Linked DNA regions of Homo sapiens: region 2 is linked to region 1. Evidence: promoter capture Hi-C in human tissues and cell types (Jung and others, 2019). All regions are on one chromosome and are shown on one strand. The core of a region is centred on a gene start or on the middle of the fragment in contact, and the rest is flanking DNA. Distances in the headings are between cores, read along the strand shown. Region 1 holds the start of FBXW8 (F-box and WD repeat domain containing 8). Region 2 overlaps MED13L (mediator complex subunit 13L).

What was found. The method cuts DNA at HindIII sites, captures the fragments that hold promoters and counts their contacts. A contact is called where the count stands out against the background at its distance.
Region 2: a contact is called between a fragment that was not itself captured here and the fragment with the promoter of FBXW8 in region 1, in 1 of the 25 tissues and cell types used here (bladder).

Annotation. Positions count from the first base shown.
Region 1 is chr12:116,909,255-116,912,468 of GRCh38, forward strand. FBXW8 (F-box and WD repeat domain containing 8) reads left to right here and starts at 1,696. Exons shown (of 11, transcript NM_153348.3): 1 at 1,696-2,101. The coding sequence starts at 1,784. RefSeq lists silencers at 1,524-1,743, 1,904-2,163. The HindIII fragment of the contact is 14,688 bases long and covers 1-3,214 here.
Region 2 is chr12:115,967,627-115,970,840 of GRCh38, forward strand. MED13L (mediator complex subunit 13L) reads right to left here. Exons shown (of 31, transcript NM_015335.5): 27 at 2,968-3,144; 28 at 1,314-1,471. Among named protein-coding and RNA genes, the nearest start is that of LINC02463, 83 kb to the left of the region's middle. The HindIII fragment of the contact is 6,936 bases long and covers 1-3,214 here.

The DNA.
Region 1 (3,214 bases), core at 446-2,945:
TATTTACAGAAGTGATTCTAGAGAAGAGGCCTGAGAGACTAAGAAGAGTTAGACAAGGAATAAGGGACAGTTAATTGCAAGAGCATCTTTGAGCCTGGAGTGGTGGCTCACACCTGTAACCCCAGCACTTTGGGAGGCTGAGGTGGGTGGATCACTTGAGGTCAGGAGTTCAAGACTAGTCTGGCCAACATGGTGAAACCCTATCTCTACTAAAAATACAAAAACTTAGCCAGGTGTGGTGGCGGGCACCTGTAGTCCTAGCTACTCAGGAGGCTGAGGCAGGAGAATGGCGTGAACCCGGGAGGCGGAGCTTCCAGCGAGCCGAGATCGCGCCACTGCACTCCAGCCTGGGCAACAGAGCGAGACTCCGTCTCAAAAACAAAACAAACCAAACAAACAAACAAACAAAAAACCATTTATTGAGCATGTATTAATCACCAGTCTCAAAGCTAAGAGTTGCCAATCTAGAAGGGAAGGGATATATATATATACATAAAAATAAAATTACAAATTGTGTTATGTATTATGATGAGAAGTACAGGATGCTGTGAGAATGAGTAACAGGGATACCTGATGTTTCTTGAGTGGAGGTTGGAAGATTAAGTGAAATGTGAGTTGAGATATGAAAGATGTGTAGGAGTTAACCAAGTCAAGGTGGGGGGAAAAGTTCCCTGCTGAGGGAATATCAGGTGCAAAGAAAACATTTTTAAGTGGAACGCCATCGTATGTCATTTTCTTTCCCATCTTAAAGCCCTTGGATTTCCTTCTGGAAATCTCTCTCCTAAGATCTGACCTTCCCTTGGCTGGTTTCTCTTTCAGATTTTTAAAAAAAAATTTTTATTTCCACAGGTTATTGGGAACAGGTGGTATTTGGTTACATGAGTAAGTTCTTTAGTGGTGATTTGTGAGATTTTGGTGCACGCATCACCCGAGCAGTATACACTGAACCCAAGTTATAGTCTTTTATCCCTCCCCACCTTCCCACCCTCCCCTCGTCCCCCTCCCCTGTTCCAAAGTCCCATAAGTCATTCTTATGCTTTTGCATCCTCGTAGCTTAGCTCCCACTTATATGTGAGAACATACGATGTTTGGTTTTCCATTCCTGAGTTACTTCACTTAGAATAATAGTCTCCAATCCCATCCAGGTTGCTACGAATGCCATGAATTCATTCCTTTTTTATGGCTGAGTAGTATTCCACCATATGTATATATCAGTTTCTTTATCCACCTGTTGATTCTCTTTTAGATTTTAATTTAAATAACATCTTAAACAGACTTTCACTATCAATCCTTACTCCCCTTACCTTACCTTATTTTGTTTTCTTCCTAATACCTATCACTGATTTAAATGTTCATATTTCTTTGTTTAAAGTCTCCCTACTTAAACGCATGCTCCAAGACGTCAGAGTTTTTGTTTTGTTTTACAGATTTAAATGCTGAATTCTTGGTGCCTGGCATATAGTAGTTGCTGAATGAATGTTTGTTGAATGAAGGAACAATGCTTGGCGCAAAGTCAGAGCTTAGCAAAAGTGATAGGCAGCAGAGCTGACGGGCTGAGGGGCAGCTGCGTAAACCTCTGCTTTGGGCGCCACAAGCCACAAGCCGGACCACCACGTGCGTACAGGGGCAGCGCCGGGGGCGTGGCGGGGGCGTGGACGCCCACCCGGAACCCTAGAGCGGCGGCGGCAGCGGCTTCCGGCCGCGGCGGACACTTCCCTGGGCGGGACTGTCTCGTGGCACCCGGTGGAACCGAGGAGAACGTGGAGCGCCGGGAGCGGCGAATATGGACGACTACAGCCTGGATGAGTTCCGTCGGCGCTGGCAGGAGGAGCTGGCGCAGGCCCAGGCGCCGAAGAAGCGGCGACGGCCCGAGGCTGCCGAGAGGCGGGCTCGGCGGCCGGAGGTGGGCTCCGGGCGCGGCGAACAGGCCTCGGGGGACCCGGCGCTGGCCCAGCGTCTCCTGGAGGGCGCGGGGAGGCCCCCGGCGGCGCGGGCGACTCGGGCCGAGGGGCAGGACGTAGCGAGCCGCTCACGTTCTCCTCTGGCCCGCGAGGGCGCCGGGGGCGGGGAGCAGCTGGTGGACCAGCTCATCCGCGACCTGGTGAGTGGCCGTCGCCTCCCCCCCGCCCATGCCTGCGCCGGCCCCCGCCCCCAGGACAAACCCCTGCAGTGATTTGGAGAGTAACTGTGTGCCACTAGTTGCCCGAGAAAATGAGTAGACGCACAAACACCAATGTTTGTGCTTGCATAGGGGTCTTTCTGGAAGCAGCACTTCCCAACCAGGGCGATTTTGTTCCCCCAGATGTGGCAGTGTCTGCAGACATTTTTGGGTGCCTCATCGGGGTGTGTATGTGTGCATGTTACTGGGCATCTAGTGGGTAGAGGCCAGAGATGCTCCTGAACATCCTACAGTGTACAGGACACCACGCACAAAAAAATTATCCAGGACAAAATATCAGTAAGTGTGGGGTTGAGAAATCCTGCTCTTGAAGGCTACCTAAACTTTGAACAAAGGTTGCCTTTGAAAAGGAGGACCCAGATGATGGATAGGAAGTAATTTTACCTTTGTATACTGTTTGCACTATTTAATTTTTGTAACCGTGCACGTATTCAAAAAAATTATCTCAGAAAAAAAGGAAGAAGAGGAGGAAGAATCTCCTGGGCACTTTCATTAGGATAGAGTTTCTTATCTTTTTGTGGGGCGTGGATACCTTGGAGAATCTGGAGGAAGCTGGGGACCCTGTGTCCGTTAAAAATAATCCCCTTCAGAAAGTTGGGAAAATCAAGAACACCTGAAATGCATCCGTGGCTCCCAGGTTAAGAGGACAAGGCTCCAGGTTCTAATGGTTTGATTTAAATTAGGCCCAAAGGAAGTCCCTACAGCTTTACAATTGGGAACCCACTTTTTTTTTTCCTGTTTTTTTTTTTTTTTCTTTCTTTCTTTCTTTTCTGAGACAGGGTCTTGCTCTGTTGCCCAGGCTAGAGTGTACTGTTGCTCTCCCGGCCCACTGCAGCCTCAAACTGCCTGGCTCAAGCCATCCTCTTCCCTCAGCATCCCGCGTAGCTGGGACTACACGCATGCGCCACCACACTCAGCTAATTTTTTAAATTTTTTGGTAGAGACAAGGTCTCCCTGTATTGCCCAGTCTGGTCTCAAACTCCTGGGCCCAAGTGATCCTCCCAATTGAGAATCATTCTTTTTTTTTTTTTTTTT
Region 2 (3,214 bases), core at 194-2,693, 940 kb before region 1:
ACAGATAAGGTAACTCAGGCTAAGAGAGGTGAAGTTAGCTTGTCCAAGGTCACAAAGCCCGTAGGCCCAGAGCTGCAATTCAAAGTTGTCTTTAACAGACTGTGGGGCATGCATTCTTAGCTGCTATGCTACTTGCCTCCAGAATTCAAATTAAACCCAACTTTAAAAAAATAGACAATGTAACATTTGTGTTTTTCGTTCCTATCACAACCGTTTCCCATGAACAAATTATCATTAACTGGTAAGTACTGCAAAGGAAACAAAGACCCTTAAAACCCCTTCCTTCCAGAAGAGGGTAATAGGGGCAGGTATAACATGGGAACAGTCTGAGATGCCCTCCTCTGGTCTTACCTGCTCTGTGACTAATCTAAGCTATAAACCTTTTTTCTCTCCAGCGTCTAATAAATTCAGTGCTGGGAATAAAAGTCCCCCCCCCCCCCCGATGAAAACTGAAGTCCTTTATGTCCATCTTTGTGTCTAAATAAATGAGTGTGAGCAGGCTGCTTATGCTTGTTCAGTCTAAGATACCAGACATAGCTATTTTTCAAAGTCTTAACTCCCCAGTCTCATAACATTTTAAATAAACAGTACAATACAGTGATGCAGCAGGAATCATCTAACTGAAGCAAAGTTACCACAAGCTGTGGCAGAACCCTCTAACTCTTAAATCTTCTGTTGTTCATCCACCTCCAATATCCCTGAGATATTTAAAGATGAAACCAGTTGTAAGCTCTGGTTTTTTCCTTAATACTCTGGCGTTAACCTGGACACATCTGTAAAATCAATCTCCTGGCGGCTCTTGCCATTCCTGCAGGTCGGCTAGAAAGAAGAAGGCTGCAAAATGACTAAGCCAGGACACGCAAAGAGCACGGCAGGCTCCTTTCAGAACAAGCCATCACCAACGTGTTCTTCAATCAGCACAATTACTCTGCATGTTGAGTAAGTACGGTTGTTGTACTAATCTCTTAAAAGCCACTATTTTGGCAAAAAATAAAACCATTAAAAAACTGGGAAGCAGCAAGCAACTAGAACTAATTTTTGCTAAGAAAACAATGCATTAAAAACCCTTGCATCTGTAATAGGACTATTCTTCTGATAAAACTTATTCATCAGAAATAATAACATATTTATTTCAAATTCCTGCCTTCTATTCAAAATGGAACCATAGTCAGTTTCCCACACTTATTTCTCTTGTACCAAGGACCCAGACCATCAAGAACTGTGCAAGTAGGAACAAGATGATCAGATGTCCAGTGGATTATCTTCCTAAAGGCTATGGTTGTCTTAAACAACGTACTCCAAATCATCCTTACCCGACTATGCTGGAAGTGAGAGCCCACACCAATTCCAGAAGGAGAGCCTGGGGAGGGTACTGGGGAAGAGTTGGGAGAGGAATGGAGGTTCCCAGTCATTAATATGCCAATATCATTGTCCATATCATCTGGGAATGGAAGGTCAACAAACATATCATCTAGAGGGAAGGGGGGAAAAAAAGCACAAAAATTAAAAAGATAGTCCACATATCAATATCATAATAATCCAACCTAACCTATGTCATGTTTTGTTGGCATATGGCTATTATGGACACACACTGTTAATAACTTAGATTCAGTTAGGACCTACTGAGTGCAAGCTATTACAAATTATTCTTTCATTTTGTACTCTCTCCAATGATCTCCTTATGTACAGTATTAACAGAATGCAATAAAGAATATAACATAAAAACCTACACTCTGCATAGCCTCCAAAGACACATAAAAGTATGGTAAAAGAGCTAAAGCAACAATTTAATCATTAAAATTGACACCATTCAAAAACACAGTAGACTCCATCTATGTATCCACTTAGCATCTAAAACACCAGAGGCTGAATGAATGCATGTTAATGAGTGTGAACTTGCCCTGAAAATGGAGACCTATTCCAAAAGCAAATCAAAGCACAATGTTTTCTCTCTTTTTTTTTTTTTGAGATGGAGTCTCCCTCTGTTGCCCAGGCTGGAGTGCAGTGGCACGATCTCGGCTCACTGCAACCTCTGCCTCCTGGGTTCAAGTGATTTCTGGCTAATTTTTGTATTTTTCATAGAGATGGGGTTTCACCACGTTGGCCAGGCTAGTCTCAAATTCCTGACCTCAAGGGATCCGCCTGCCTCAGCCTCCCAAAGTGCTAGGATTACAGGCATAAGCCACCGTGCCTGGCCCAGCATTTTCATTAAGAAATCCTCCCCAACATTATAAAAGTAAGGTACACTCACAGCAGAAAATTTGTAAAGAAAAGTATAAAAAGTGAAAACCATCACCTAGAACCCAATCACCATGATCATTTTTTTCTATGATTCTTTTATTTTCTCATATATTTGTTATTCTATTGTAATCATACCAGATATAAAATTTGGTATCCTTTTCCTCATCCCATTTACCATAAATAAACACTGGTAGGTGTTATAATTTCTTCAAAAACAATGCAAATGGATGCTGTGTTGAGTGTTTTATAGTTTATAAATAATCATTTTTTTAAACAAATACCTTAACAGCTATTCAAAAATTTCCATTAAGAATAATCAAATAAGGGTTTCTCTATAGCAAATTAGATTGCCATAGACTAGCTAAAGGAAGGTGCTCTCTTCATATTGCTTAGTACTTCACACATTTCAAATCACATCAGCAAATATTTATTGAAAGAGTGGCACCTAAGTACAGAACAGTGCCACGCAGGTATTATTTTTTGCCTTTAATGAAAAATGGAAGAAAGTTAATTGCCCAAACAAGGAAAATATTTATTTGGTCTTGTTAATTGTGCAGATAAATCAAAGCTTTAAGACCAAATAGATTCTCAAACCTTCTATCCCCTCTTTATAGTTCCTGGGTTGTTTATTACAACACAGAAAAGCCATGCGGCAGCCCAGTGATTCCATACTCCGGCTCTGCCCTGCATGAAGGTGAGCACTATCCATACAGGTCTTCTACTCACCATTGTTGGGGCTAAACCCATCTTCATTGGGGTAGTTGGCTGGAGCCACCTGGATGGTTGATGATGTTGGGAACACCAAGATGTGTGTACAAGAAGCATCTTGAGGGGTGTTGAGCTGAGATGACTGCATGTTCAGTGCAGTACTTCGGCCAAAAACAGAGCCCATTGTGACAGCATCTTTAAAGAAAAAAATAGAATTATATCAATCAATGAACAACCCCAGAAATGAGGTTTTCAGAGGGCCTGA